Linked DNA regions of Homo sapiens: region 1 is linked to region 2. The links are contacts of gene promoters, found by promoter capture Hi-C in blood cells and fetal thymus (Javierre and others, 2016). All regions are on one chromosome and are shown on one strand. Each heading gives the region's core, a stretch centred on a gene start or on the middle of the fragment in contact. The rest is flanking DNA. Distances are from core to core; before and after follow the strand shown.

What was found. Contacts are between HindIII fragments. The CHiCAGO score rates a contact against its expected background, and 5 or more counts as called.
Region 1: a contact is called between the fragment with the promoter of PEAK3 here and a fragment that was not itself captured in region 2, in 1 of 17 cell types (total B cells). The highest score is 5.2, in total B cells.

What each region holds. Positions count from the first base shown.
Region 1 is chr19:2,280,759-2,287,447 of GRCh38, forward strand. PEAK3 (PEAK family member 3) reads right to left here and starts at 1,417. Exons shown (of 4, transcript NM_198532.3): 1 at 1,329-1,417; 2 at 92-177. The coding sequence starts at 173. It overlaps LINGO3 (leucine rich repeat and Ig domain containing 3), which reads right to left. Exons shown (of 2, transcript NM_001101391.3): 2 at 6,406-6,689. RefSeq lists an enhancer at 1,133-1,272. The HindIII fragment of the contact is 9,031 bases long and covers 1-5,711 here.
Region 2 is chr19:2,593,782-2,600,421 of GRCh38, forward strand. All of the region lies in intron 2 of GNG7 (G protein subunit gamma 7), which reads right to left. It also overlaps the pseudogene RN7SL121P. Among named protein-coding and RNA genes, the nearest start is that of MIR7850, 34 kb to the right of the region's middle. The HindIII fragment of the contact is 4,165 bases long and covers 907-5,071 here.

The sequences.
Region 1 (6,689 bases), core at 167-2,666, 310 kb before region 2:
CTGCCGCTCCCTGCACCCACCTGCCGCTCCCTGCACCCCCCTGCCGCTCCCTGCACCCCCGCAGCCCAGGGCTCCCTGGGGAGCTGCTTACCAAGGTTGCTATACGTGGGCTGAGTCGACCAGGTGGGGTTGTCGGGCTCGGGGGGCTCTGTGGGGGGCTCCGGGCTGCTCATGTTGCTGGGGAAAGGTCAAACGGGGCGTGTGTGGGGTGACCGTGTGCACGCACAGGGCGACATGGGGAGGGGTCCGTGAGTGCTGGGGCCTGGGAGACCGTCGAGGCCTCCTGCTCCAGGGCCCTTGGTGAGAACAGGCGCACCCACACTCCACTCCCTTGTCCAGTTTTGACCCTGCTGTGTGATCCCGAGTGGGTTTCCTGTCCTCTCTGGGCCCCTGCTGTGTGATCCCGAGTGGGTTTCCTGTCCTCTCTGGGCCCCTGCTGTGTGATCCCGAGTGGGTTTCCTACTCTCTCTGGGCCCCTGCTGTGTGATTCTGAGTGGGTTTGCTGCCCTCTCTGGGGCCCTGCTGTGTGATCCTGAGTGGGTTTGCTGCCCTCTCTGGGCCCCTGATGTGTGATCCCGAGTGGGTTTCCTGCCCTCTCTGGGGCCCTGCTGTGTGATCCCGAGTGGGTTTCCTACTCTCTCTGGGCCCCTGCTGTGTGATTCTGAGTGGGTTTCCTGCCCTCTCTGGGGCCCTGCTGTGTGATCCCGAGTGGGTTTCCTACTCTCTCTGGGCCCCTGCTGTGTGATTCTGAGTGGGTTTGCTGCCCTCTCTGGGGCCCTGCTGTGTGATCCTGAGTGGGTTTGCTGCCCTCTCTGGGCCCCTGATGTGTGATCCCGAGTGGGTTTCCTGCCCTCTCTGGGGCCCTGCTGTGTGATCCCGAGTGGGTTTCCTGCCCTCTCTGGGGCCCTGCTGTGTGATCCCGAGTGGGTTTCCTACTCTCTCTGGGCCCCTGCTGTGTGATTCTGAGTGGGTTTCCTGCCCTCTCTGGGGCCCTGCTGTGTGATCCCGAGTGGGTTTCCTGCCCTCTCTGGGCCCACTTCCTCAATCATGAGGCAGGTCTGTCACCCATCAATTTTCCAGGCAGTGGGAAGGACCCCCCTCTGCACGTTTGGGATGGGGACAGAGTGTTCAGCCTGAGGACAGGCCTTTGGGGGTCAGTTGCGGGGGAGACAGTGTCCAGGGACCCAGGGATCCACACTCAGGCCTCATCCCCGAGGGCTCAGCCGTGCGGTTGCTGCCGGCAGCCAGGCCTCGACCCACCCCCGCCCAGATCCCAACCTCAAAAAGTGGCCGCTTCTGTCCAGCTCCCCGCTCCAGGAGCCCCCTACCTTCAAGACTGGCGTGCCCTCTGGGGGAGGAGGGGTCCGTGGGGACAAACTCCCAATGGCCACAGCCCCTGGCCTCGCAGGAGGGGTCTGACCTGGCGCCGGCAGCTGACAGGAAAACGTCCGGCCCACTGTCAGACCGCAGCCCGGGGTGGGGAGGGGACATTTCTGCAACACTTCCCCAGCAGCCGAGGCCGCCGCCTCCCCTGCCCGCCCGCAGAGGACAGGATGTAACCGGGAGGGAACAGCCTGGACAGAGACCAGGAGGTGGGATCTGAAAGTCAATAGCCCCAGGGCTGACAGCCGGGTGGGGGCAGTGGAAGGCCCCCCACAGCCTCAGAGGCCAGGCTGGGGTGCGGGGCAGTGGGGAGCCCTGTGAGATGGGGAGAGAGGGGCAGAGCTGGCCCACCGTAGGGGAGCGCACAGAACACGGTGGCGGCTGTCCCTGGAGAAGGTGCAAGTGGGGTCTGTGGGTTTCACTTCCCCGGGAACCACCTCCCCTCCTGCGGCAGCATCTGAGGAGCCCCCAGCGGCCCCCTGCCCCATCCCAGGGCCCCCGAATGTGGAGCGTGGGCGAGGACCCTCCCGGCTCTGCCGCGCCTCGCTGTGTGACTGCGGGCAAATCCCCACCCTCTCCGTGCTCCGGCGAAGAAAGAAGAGTGGCTCCCACATCCCGCCTGCTAACAGCCACGCCTGCTGGATTTTTCTTTGAAAAGATGGAATCGGCTCGTTTTCCCCCTTCCCCCTTCCTCACTGCCTCGATGCATTTATTTAGAAAAGACGTTTTAGATAAAATCACCATAAATGGAAAAATCAAGAATGGAAAAAACCCAAGGAAAAGCAGACGCGGGGTGAAATTCCAGCTGAACTGCGTGCCTGTCAAAACTGTCTTTTTCTTTGGAGACAGGGTCTCACACTGTTGCCCAGGCTGGAGCGCAGTGGTGCAATCCCAGCTCACTGCAGCCTGGAACGAGCTCCTGGGGCGATCCTCCCTCCTCGGCCTCCCAAAGTGCTAGGATCACAGGTGTGAGCCACCCTGCCCGGCCCCAAAGATGTTTTTGCTGCAAGGATTGAGTGTATTTTATGTGGGATCCCCGATCCCGTTTCCCTTAGGGAAAATGGGCCCAGAAAGAGTAGGGGCTCCATCCAGGGTCACGCAGCAGCTCGAGGCTGGGAGCAGAGGTCCACAGAGCCACTGCTGAGTCCCCCTGGCCTCCCCCAATCCCCTGAGAAGGGGCAGGAGGGGAAGGAGACTACATTTTTCTTATGAACTTCCCTTGAGTGGGTCCCATGCCACACTTTTTTTTCTTTGAGGCAGGGTCTAGCTCCGTCCCCTAGGCTGGAGTGCCGTGGTGTGATCATAGCTCACTGCAGCCTCCGCCTCCTGGGCTCAAGTGATTCTCCCACCTCAGCCTCCTGAGTAGCTGGGACCACTGGTGTGCACCACCATGCCTGGTTAATTTTTATTTTATTTATTTATTTTTGAGATGGAGTCTCACTCTGTTGTCCAGGCTGCAGTGCAGTGGCGCAATCTTGGCTGACTGCAACCTCCGCCTCCCGGGTTCAAGCAATTCTCCTGCCTCAGGCTCCCAAGTAGCTGGTACTACAGGCGTGCACCACCACACCTGGCTAATTTTTGTATTATTATTATTATTTTTAGTAGAGTTGGGGTTTCACCGTGTTGGCCAGCCTGGTCTCGAACTCCTGACCTCAGGTGACCTGCCCGCCTCAGCCTCCCAAAATGCTGGGATTACAGGCGTGAGCCACTGCGCCCGCCACAGAGTTTAAAATGATGCAAAGGCTGGGCACATGCCTGTAATCCCAGCACTTTGAGAGGCTGAGGTGGGTGGATCACTTGAGCCCAGGAGTTTGGTACCATCCTGGGCAACACAGTGAGACCCCATCTCTACAAAAAATAAAACATGAGCCTGGCACAGTGGCGTGTGCCTGTGGTCCCAGCTACTCAGAAGGCTGAGGTGGGGGCATTGCTTGAGTCCAGGAGGTCGAGGCTGCAGGGAGCTATGATCATAACACTGAACTCCAGCCTGGGCAACAGAGTGAGACCCTATCACAAAAATAAATCAATAATAAATAATAAAACAATGCAAAAACAGACAAACATGCACCTCAGTAATCAAGATAAACATCATTTTACTGAATGTTTCACAAAACCTAACCGGCAAACTATGGGCCGAGCCTCTGTTTTTGTCAATAAAGTTTTATTGGAACCCGGGTGGAGGAGCAGGGTAAGGCAAAGAGAAGCAGGGTTAAACAAGTGCAGATCAGATCCTGTCTTTATTTAAAATATTGATAGGCCAGGTGTGGTGGCTCATGCCTGTAATCCCAGCCCTTTGGGAGGCTGAGGCTGGTGGATCACCTGAGGTCAGGAGTTTGAGACCAGCCTGGCCAACATGCTGAAACCCCATCTCTACTAAAAATACAAAAAAAAAAAAAAAATTATTCGGGCATGGAGGTGGGTGCCTGTGATCCCAGCTACTCTGGAGGCTGAGGCAGGAGAATCGCTTGAACCCGGGAGGCGGAGGTTGCAGTGAGATGAGATTGCACCACTGCACTCCAGCCTGGGTGACAGAGCAAGACTCCGTTTAAAAAAAAAAAAAAAAAGGCTGGGCGTAGTGGCTCATGCCTGTAATCCCAGCACTTTGGGAGGCTGAGGCAGGCAGATCACCTGAGGTCGGGAGATCGAGACCATCCTAGCCAAGATGGTGAAACCCCGTCTCTACTAAAAACACAAAATTAGCCAGGCATGGTAGCCTGCACCTGTAATCCCAGTTACTCGGGAGGCTGAGGCAGGAGAATCGCTTGAACCCGGGAGGCAGAGGTTGCAGTGAGCTGAGATCGTGCACTCCAGCCTGGGTGAAACTCTGTCTTCAAAAAAAAAAAAAATGTTGGTAGCGTGGTGTGGCCTCTGGATCAGGCCCCTCCAGATCCTACAGCTGTCCTTTCATTTGAGAAGCCCTTATTGAGCCATGGGAGCTGGGGCCACATTTTCTCTGGATCCCCAGCATCACCCAGTACGGGGCAGGGCAGGGATGCCGTATGCTGATGGATTTTTACATGACATCGGCCTTTTGGAGAAAAATGCCTGTGTTTTGTTTGTTTGAGACAGGGTCTCACTCTGTAGCCAGGCTGGAGTTCAGTGGTGCGATCTCGGCTCACTGTAACCTTCCCCTCCCCGGTTCAAGCGATTCTCCTGCCTCAGCCCCCTGAGTAGCTGGGATTACAGGTGGCCGCCACCACGCCCAGCAAATTTTTGTATTTTCGAAAAGATGGGGTTTCGCCATGTTGGCGAGGCTGGTCTCGAACTCCTGACCACAGGTGATCCACCCGCCTCGGCCTCCCAAAGTGCTGGGATTACAGACGTGAGCCACCATGCCCAGCCTATTGCAGGACTATTAGCTTCCAAATTACAGACAAACAAACCGAGGCACAGAGAGGGGCAGTGACTTGCCCCAGGCCACACAGCAATGGAAGCCGGAGACCTGAGCCTCCAGCTTCCCTTGGCTCCACAAGCAAAAGCTCACATGTGGGAATTGTGCCTCTGTCTTGTGGAGGAAAACAGGAGGAAGTTCATACGCAGGGCTCAGGAATCACCTGGAAAAGATGCCGGCTTGTCGGGGGATGTGGGAGAGAGAGAGACACCCCAAACGCGTGTCCCTGTCCAGAAGATGGGGGTGAGAGATCCACGAGGGTGCCGGCATGGGCTGGGGCACCCCGAGTGCTGTCCTAGCTCCGTCTGGGAGGGGAAGTCAAGTCAGGCTTGGTCAGAAGCCACCCAGACATGGGGCGTGAGGATGGCTTGGTCTGGTCCTGGTTTTAGGGGTCCCCTCTTAGGTTTCCAGCCACCAAGGAGATGGGTGTTACTTTAGCTGGGTCTTGGCTGCCTGAGCAGGGAGGGCCTCTCAGCTGGGGTCTCCCCTGCCCTCCCCCGAGTGCACCCCATAAATGAGTCAGGGTTCATGGAAACCTTGGAGGTTGCACCTGGTTCATGTCAGGCACTCAGAGCATTGCACAGGGAAGAGGCGGCTCTCCTGGACGGGGACTCTGAGGCCTACAGGACAATAGTTTCACCTGCCTTTGCTGTAGGAGAGAACGGGAAATCAGTCCCCACGGGAGAGTCCCACAGCTTAGAGCCCCCCTCACCCTCCAGCTGCCTTGAAACCAGGCATGGAGAGAGGGCCGCCTCACAGTCCCTGACAGGCCTCTGTTCTGCCCCCGAAGGGCAGGGAAATAAAGGAACCTTAGTCCCAGGTTCAAATGGGGGAACCGAGGCCCAGAGAGTGACACTGGGCTGTGGCGAGTGGGAGACTGCTCTTGGCCGGGTCTTCTGCATCCTAGTTCCGTCCACTTCCATCCTGAAAAAGCACAAGCTTCTCCCTGTGCCTTCCCGGGCGGGTGGGGTTTGAGACTTCATGCCCACTGTGCCTCAGTTTCCCCACCTGTCACCGCTCCGTGCCTCGGTTTCTCCATCTGTTGCCGCTCTGTGCCTCAATTTCCCCATCTGTCAGTGAGGACTGGGGTGGGGCTAAAGCACTTTATTAGTCTCACTTCCAAAGCCAAGACTCCCTGGCTTTTCTCGGAGCCCTCAGAGACAGGCAGGGCAGACATGGGACCCTGTCAGCAGCACCCAGACTCCCCGACAGACCAATTCCAGGAGGCACAGTGGGGACCCATGTCTTCTTTCTTCCCCGGCCTGAGTTTGGGGCAGGAGTTTCCCAATGGCCCAGCTTTGCCCACTCTTCTCAGCCCCCACCTGTCCCCAGCTGGGGTCTCAGAGCGGCTTCCCTCCACCCTCTGCCCCTTGCTCGACCCATCTGTAAAATGGGTTCGTTAGCAGGACCCACCCAGCTCACAGGGCTGGCCTCAGCGTGAAAGGAGGGAACACACACAGCGCCTGGAACAGCGCCGGGAACAGCATGGGCGCTGCAGAAGTGTGGCCTATCACATGTCACTAGTGGCGTGGAATTCCCTCAGGGTTGGCTTCCCCTGGGGACCCCAGCAGCCCCTCATCCCTCAGCCCTGCCCCCTGTTGCTCCCATGGGAGTAAGAACAAAATCTGAAGTTTGTTATTAAATCGGTTCCATTTTTATTGGATTTGAACCAAATACAGCAGGATGAGGGGTGGGGGTGCTGAGGGGTCTTAGTTCATGTTGGGATGGGGTGGGGGGCTCAGGGGGCTGGGAAATCCTAATATACGGATGCTCTGTGAACCCTAACCTGGCCGAGAATGCACCCCCTCCTGTCTTTGATAGGCTAAAGGCACTTGGATATCAATTCTGGGGGGCCCTTGGGGTTGTCATGGTAAGCAGAGTCAGACAGGTGCTAAGAAAAAAATTGGTTCTGCCC
Region 2 (6,640 bases), core at 1,739-4,238:
CACTTTTTTTTTTTTTTTAAACAATCCTTGGAGTTCTGTGGTCCATGCCATTTCCTTCTGTTTCAATGTTATATATGTTTTGATTACTATTGTGATGTTTTAAGTTTTCTGAAGCAAGCTGAGAGGCAGGCCGAAATATTTGATGCCAAAAAAAAAAAAAAACTTTCTTACCTCATTCACCCCAAACCTTCTCAAATCTGGATTAAATACTATACTTTAAAACAAACATGAGGTGCTTCTGAAGGGGAGGAAAATTTATTTCTCTGCTTTTCTATTATACAAGTTGTTTACAGAAACTGCAAATCAAGGCCGGGCACAGTGGCTCACGCCTGTAATCCCAGCGCTTTGGGAGGCCAAGACGGGCGGATCACCTGAGCTCAGGAGTTCGAGACCAGCCTGGCCAACATGGAGAAACCCCATCTCTACTAAAAATACAAAACACTTAGCTGGGTGTGGTGGTGGGCACCTGTAGTCCCAGCTACTTGGGAGGCTGAGGCAGGAGAATCGCTTGAACCTGGGAGGTAGAGGTTGCAGTGAGCCGAGATATCACACCACTGCACTCCAGCCTAGGCGACAGAGTGAGACTCCCTCAAGAAAGAAAGAAAGAAGGAAAGAAAGAAGGAGGGAAGGAAGGAAGGAAGGAAGGAAGGAAGGAAGGAAGGAAGGAGGAAGAAAGAAACTGCAAATTTAAAAAATTACATATAGTGGAAAATTTCAAACACAGCCTGAAGCACGCAGGCCAGGACGAGGTCTCTCTGAGTGTCGTCACCTCCTGCAACGGGAATTAACATTCTGCCCTTCTTCTGTTCTCACTTCTCTCTCCAGCTTTGCACGGGTATTTCACACAAATTCAAGACATCATATGACTTTGCCTGTAGAACCTTCAGAATGTTCTCTAATCACTGAAGCTTTCTGATTTCCCAACACAGAACCACCCAATCAAATTAACACTGTCTTATTATCAACTTGCTCCATGATTATCAACAATAATTTCCTGTTACCAATAACCAGCCTGTGACCCATTGTCCATGATTATCTCAAAAATGTCTTTAATGGCCCGGCGTGGTGGCTCACGTCTGTAATCCCAGCCCTTTGGGAGGCTGAGGCGAGCTGATTGCTTCAGGACAGGAGTTTGAGACCAGCCTGGGCAACATACCAAGACCTCATCTCTACAAAAAATACAAAAAAATTAGCTGGGCATGGTGGCACGTACCTGTAGTCCCAGCTATTTGAAAGGATGAGGTGGGAGGATCGCTTGAGCCCAGGTGGTCAAGGTTGCAGTGAACCATGATGGCACCACTGCACTCCAGCCTGGGCAACAGAGCGAGACCCTGTCTCAAAAGAAATTAAATTTTTTTTTTTTTGAGACGGAGTCTCACTCTGTTGCCCAGGCTGGAGTGCAGTGGCGTGATCTTGGCTCACTGCAACCTCCACCTCCCGGGTTCAAGCGATTCTCCTGCCTCAGCCTCCCAAGTAGCTGGCATTACAGGCGCCCGCCACCACGTCCGGCTAATTTTTGTATTTTTAGTAGAGACGGGGTTTTGCCATGTTGGTCAGGCCGGTCTTGAACTCCTGACCTCAGTTGATTGATCCACACACCTCAGCCTCCCAAAGTGCTGGGATTATAGGTGTGAGCCACCATGCCCGGCTGAAAGGAAATTAAATTTAAGGGCCGAGTGCAGTGGCTCATGCCTGTAATCCCAGCACTTTGGGAGGCCGAGGCGGGTGGATTGCCTGAGCTCAGGAGTTTGAGACCAGCCTGGGCAACATAGCAAAACTCCGTCTCTAGTAAAAATACAAAAAATTAGCCGGGCGTGGTGGCGGGTGCCTGTAATCCCAGCTACTCGGGAGGCTGAGGCAGGAGAATGGCGTGAACCCGGGAGGCGGAGCTTGCAGCGAGCCAAGATCGCACCACTGCACTCCAGCCTGGGCAACAGAGTGAGACTCTGTCTCAAAAAAAAAAAAAAAGAAATTAAATTTAAAAAGGTAAAAAGCAGCTCAGGACCGCCAATGTACAATGCACTCCATATGGCTGTACGTATCTATGTGAGTGTGCATGTGTAGGAAAAGTCTAGGGAGTTTCAGTGGTTAGACGACAATGACCAGGACAACTGTGTGAGCAGCACCTGTGTGGCACTGAGTCATCTCAGGCTCTCCACTCGGCTCTGTCCATCAACGACCGAATCCAGCTCTCACGGCGACTCTACGCTGCATGCTTGTTACTCTACTACAGAGGAGGAAGCAACGCTTACGAAAACCAAGGACCAGAAGAACTCACAATCAAAACTAGTGGGCGGCCGGGCGCGGTGGCTCATATCTGTAATCTCAGCACTTTGAGAGGCCGAGGCGGGCGGATCACCTGAGGTCAGGAGTTTGGGACCAGCATGGCCAACATGGTGAAACCCCATCTCTACTGAAAATACAAAAATTAGCCGGGTGCGGTGGTGCATGCCTGTAATCCCAGCTACTTGGGAGGCTGAGACAGGAGAATCGCTTGAACCCAGGAGGTGGAGGTTGCAGTGAGCTGAGATCGTGCCTCTGCACTGCAGCCTGGGCGACAGAGTGAGAGTCGGTCCCTAAAATTAAAATAAAAAATAGTAGGCAGGCCCAGCGCGGGGCTCACACCTGCAATCCCAGCACTTTGAAAGGCTGAGGCAGGAAAATCACTTGAGCCCAGGAGTTTCAGACCAGCCTGGGTAACATAGTGAGACCCCGTCTCAATTAAAATTAAAAAAAAATTAAGCAGGTGTAGTGATATCCACCTGTGGTCCCAGCTACTCAGGAGGTTGAGGTGGGAGGATCGCTTGAGTCCAAGAGGTTGAGGCTGTAGTGAGCCATGATTATGCCACTGCACTCCAGCCTGGGTGACAAAGTGAGACCCTGTCCCCCCCCCAAAAAAAAAAGTGGGCAAATATCGACCCAGTTGTTCTCCTTTCACGTTCTGCACTGATGATCAGTTCCCATCCACCCCACACTGTTAACAGTGGTTAATTCTGGGGAGTGAGATTTGTGATGAAGATGTCTCCATTCTCACTCCTGCAGTACGAGACTTCTTTACAAATATATTCTCAACAGGGTGAACATCAATTCTTGGGGAGATGAAAACAAATTTTACTTTTTTTATGGATTAAGCCCAGAAAACAGAACATAAACAGATACACAGTCTATCTATGATATTGAAATTTCACAGGTATAGGCTGGGCTCGGTGGCTCACACCTGCAATCCCAGCACTTTTGGAGGCTGAGGTGGGAAGATCACTTGAGGCCAGGAGTTCAAGATCATCCTGGACAACATAGCAAGACCCAATCTCTAGAAAGAATAAAAATTTAAAAATTATCCAGGCATGGTGGTGTGCACCTGTTATCCCAGCTTTGGTGACTGAGGCGGGAGGATTGCTTGAGCCTGGGAGTTGGAAGCTGCTGCAGGGAGCTGAGATGGCGTTACTGCACTCCAGCTTGAGTGACAGAGAAAGAAGATCCTGTCTCTAAGATAAAAACAAACAAAAACTCCATTATATAATAATGCTACTTGGGGCCAGTCACAGTGGCTCACGCCTGTAATCCTAACACTGTGGGAGGCCGAGGCAGGCGGATCACCTAAGGTCAGGAGTTTGAGACCAGCCTGGCCAACATGGTGAAACCCCGTGTCTACTAAAAATACAAAAATTAGCTGGGCGTGGTGGCGGGCACCTGTAATCTTAGCTACTCAGGAGGCTGAGGCAGGAGAATCGCTTGAACCCAGGAGGTGGAGGTTGCAGTGAGCCGAGATCACGCCACTGCACTCCAGCCTGGGTGACAAGAGCAAAACTCCTTCTCAAAAATAATAATAATAAGGCCGAGTGTGGTGGCTCACACCTGTAATCCCAGCACTTTGGGAGGCCGAGGTGGGTGGATCACGAGGTCAGCAGATCGAGACCATCCTGGCTAACACGGTGAAACCCCGTCTCTACTAAAAATACAAAAAATTAGCCAGGCGTGGTGGCGGGCGCCTGTAGTGCCAGCTACTCGGGAGGCTGAGGCAGGAGAATGGCGTGAACCCAGGAGGCAGAGCTTGCAGTGAGCCGAGATTGCGCCACTGCACTCCAGCCTGGGCAACAGAGTGAGACTCTGTTTCAAAAAAAAAAAAAAAAAAGAAATTAAATTTAGAAAGGTAAAAAGCAGCTCAGGACTGCCAATGTACAATGCGCTCCATATTGCTGTACGTATCTATGTGAGTGTGCATGTGTAGGAAAAGTCTAGGGAGTTTCAGTGGTTAGACGACAATGACCAGGACAACTGTGTGAGCAGCACCTGTGTGGCACTGAGTCATCTCAGGCTCTCCACTCGGCTCTGTCCATCAACGACCGAATCCAGCTCTCACGGCGACTCTACGCTGCATGCTTGTTACTCTACTACAGAGGAGGAAGCAACGCTTACGAAAACCAAGGACCAAAAGAACTCACAATCAAAACTAGTGGGCGGCCGGGCGCGGTGGCTCATATCTGTTAATCCCAGCACTTTGGGAGGCCAAGGTGGGCGGATCACCTGAGGTCAGGAGTTCGAGACCAGCCTGGCCAACATGGTGAAACCACATCTCTACTGAAAATACAGAATTGGCCGGGCGTGGTGGCTCACGCCTGTACTCCCAGCACTTTGGGAGGCCGAGGCGGGCGGATCACGAGGTCAGGAGATCGAGACCATCCTGGCTAACACGGTGAAACCCCATCTCTACTAAAAATACAAAAAATTAGCTGGGTGTGGTGGCGGGCGCCTGTAGTCCCAGCTACTCGGGAGGCTGAGGCAGGAGAATGGTGTGAACCCAGGAGGCAGAGCTTGCAGTGAGCTGAGATCGCGCCACTGCACTCCAGCCTGAGCGACAGAGCGAGACTCCGTCTCAAAAAAAATGAAAAGTAATAAAATAATAATAATAATAATAATAATAATAATAATAATAATAATAATAATGCTACTTGGGCATCTTCCGTCAAAAGAATCAGACATCGGGTGCATTTAAATCTCTTGCCACCGTTATTCTTTCTAAGGAGCCACTAGGAAAAGGATGTCTCAAAAGAAGGTGATCACGGAAAAAGAAAGCTTATGAAACACTGACTTCTGTAATCACGTTTTCAGTTGAAAGAAATGGAAACTGATCTAACTTCCAGCTCACCTCAAGCTGGAAAGAAGTCTAGTTTCTAGAAGCATCTCCAAAATTGGAAAGTGAAGTTTCTAGCATACAGTTCCACCGAGGGCCCATGATGAAGAGGGGGAGAGGCGGGCACGAGGCGAAGCGGGTGCCCCGCGCTCGGCTGGAAAAAGCCAATGTCACCGGGCTGTGCTATTTGCTTGTGGGAGGGACGCCTGGGGTGGGGGCGTGCCGCTGGTTGCTCCGCCGCAGACACCACGTGGTGCTTTTTGAACTGATCAGAGCCCCAGCCTGCCTGCTTTGCTGTCCCGGGCTGACCTCCGAAAACACCGCACTTTCCCCTCGCTGACTTGGTAGATGTCTGTCTGTCTGCTTGAGTATCTCGAAGATCTGAGGTTTCCATTCCAGCAGAATAAATACTAGGAGGGCCCACCCCTTCCTCCTCCCAGCCGAGGCTGGATGAATCCAAATAAACCCAGCTGGTGGGGAAGAGCATTTCTAGGACTTCGGCGGGAGAAAGCACCGCCCACCCGGGTGGGTTTCCAGGAGGTGGAGGTGCGGACCTGGGAGGGGGGCCCTCGGGCAGCCCTGCCATGCAGCCGCGTCACTCCGCCTGCCTGATGTCACAGGAGCTGGGGGAGTTTGGGTATTTCATGAAGCTGTTGAGTTATTGTGGCTTTGGTTTGTGACACCGGCGTTCAGGCACGGCCTAAAGGCAACATCAAAGACGGTGCATGAAAACCGGGGGTTAGGCCGGGCGCGGTGGCTCACGCCTGTAATCCCAGCACTTTGGGAGACCGAGGCAGGCGGATCACCTGCGGTCAGGAGTTCGAGACCAGCCTGGGCAATACGGCGAAACCCCGTCTCTACTAAAAATACAAAAATTAGCCGGGGGTGGTGGTGCTGGCCTGTGATCCCAGCTACTCAGGAGGCTGAGGCAGGAGAATCGCTTGAGCCCTGGAGGTGGAGGTTGCAGAGAGCTGAGATGGCGCCACCGCACTCCAGCCTGGGCAACAGAGCAAGACTCCATCTCAAAAAAAAAAAAAAATTAGATTGTGGTAATGGTTACACAACTCTGGATATTCTAAAAACCACTGAATTGTACACTTTAAAAAGTGAATTCTATGGCATGTAAAAATCTCAATAAAGCTGTCATATAAAATAAATATATATAAATATGATGCCAAAATATATACATAAATATGGTAATAAAAAATTAAGGCCCTTAAACAGCTTGTGTTTATGTAGATTTTAGCTATACTCCTGTTACAAGTTAACATAATCCCATTAAATATTTTTTTAAACCATATATTTTATATTAGGAGGATGACACGTTTAAGTGAAAAGTAACTATTTTTCAAAAAAAAAAAACATTGAGGGGAAATAGTGGCATTGTTTTACATTTTTGCAAATTTCTTTCATGTCTGGCTTAATAGAAGACAGCTGGATTCTTGTATAAGCCTCTGAGTTCAATCCACTGTGATATCAAACGTCATGCAACCTCTGAAAACTCCACCA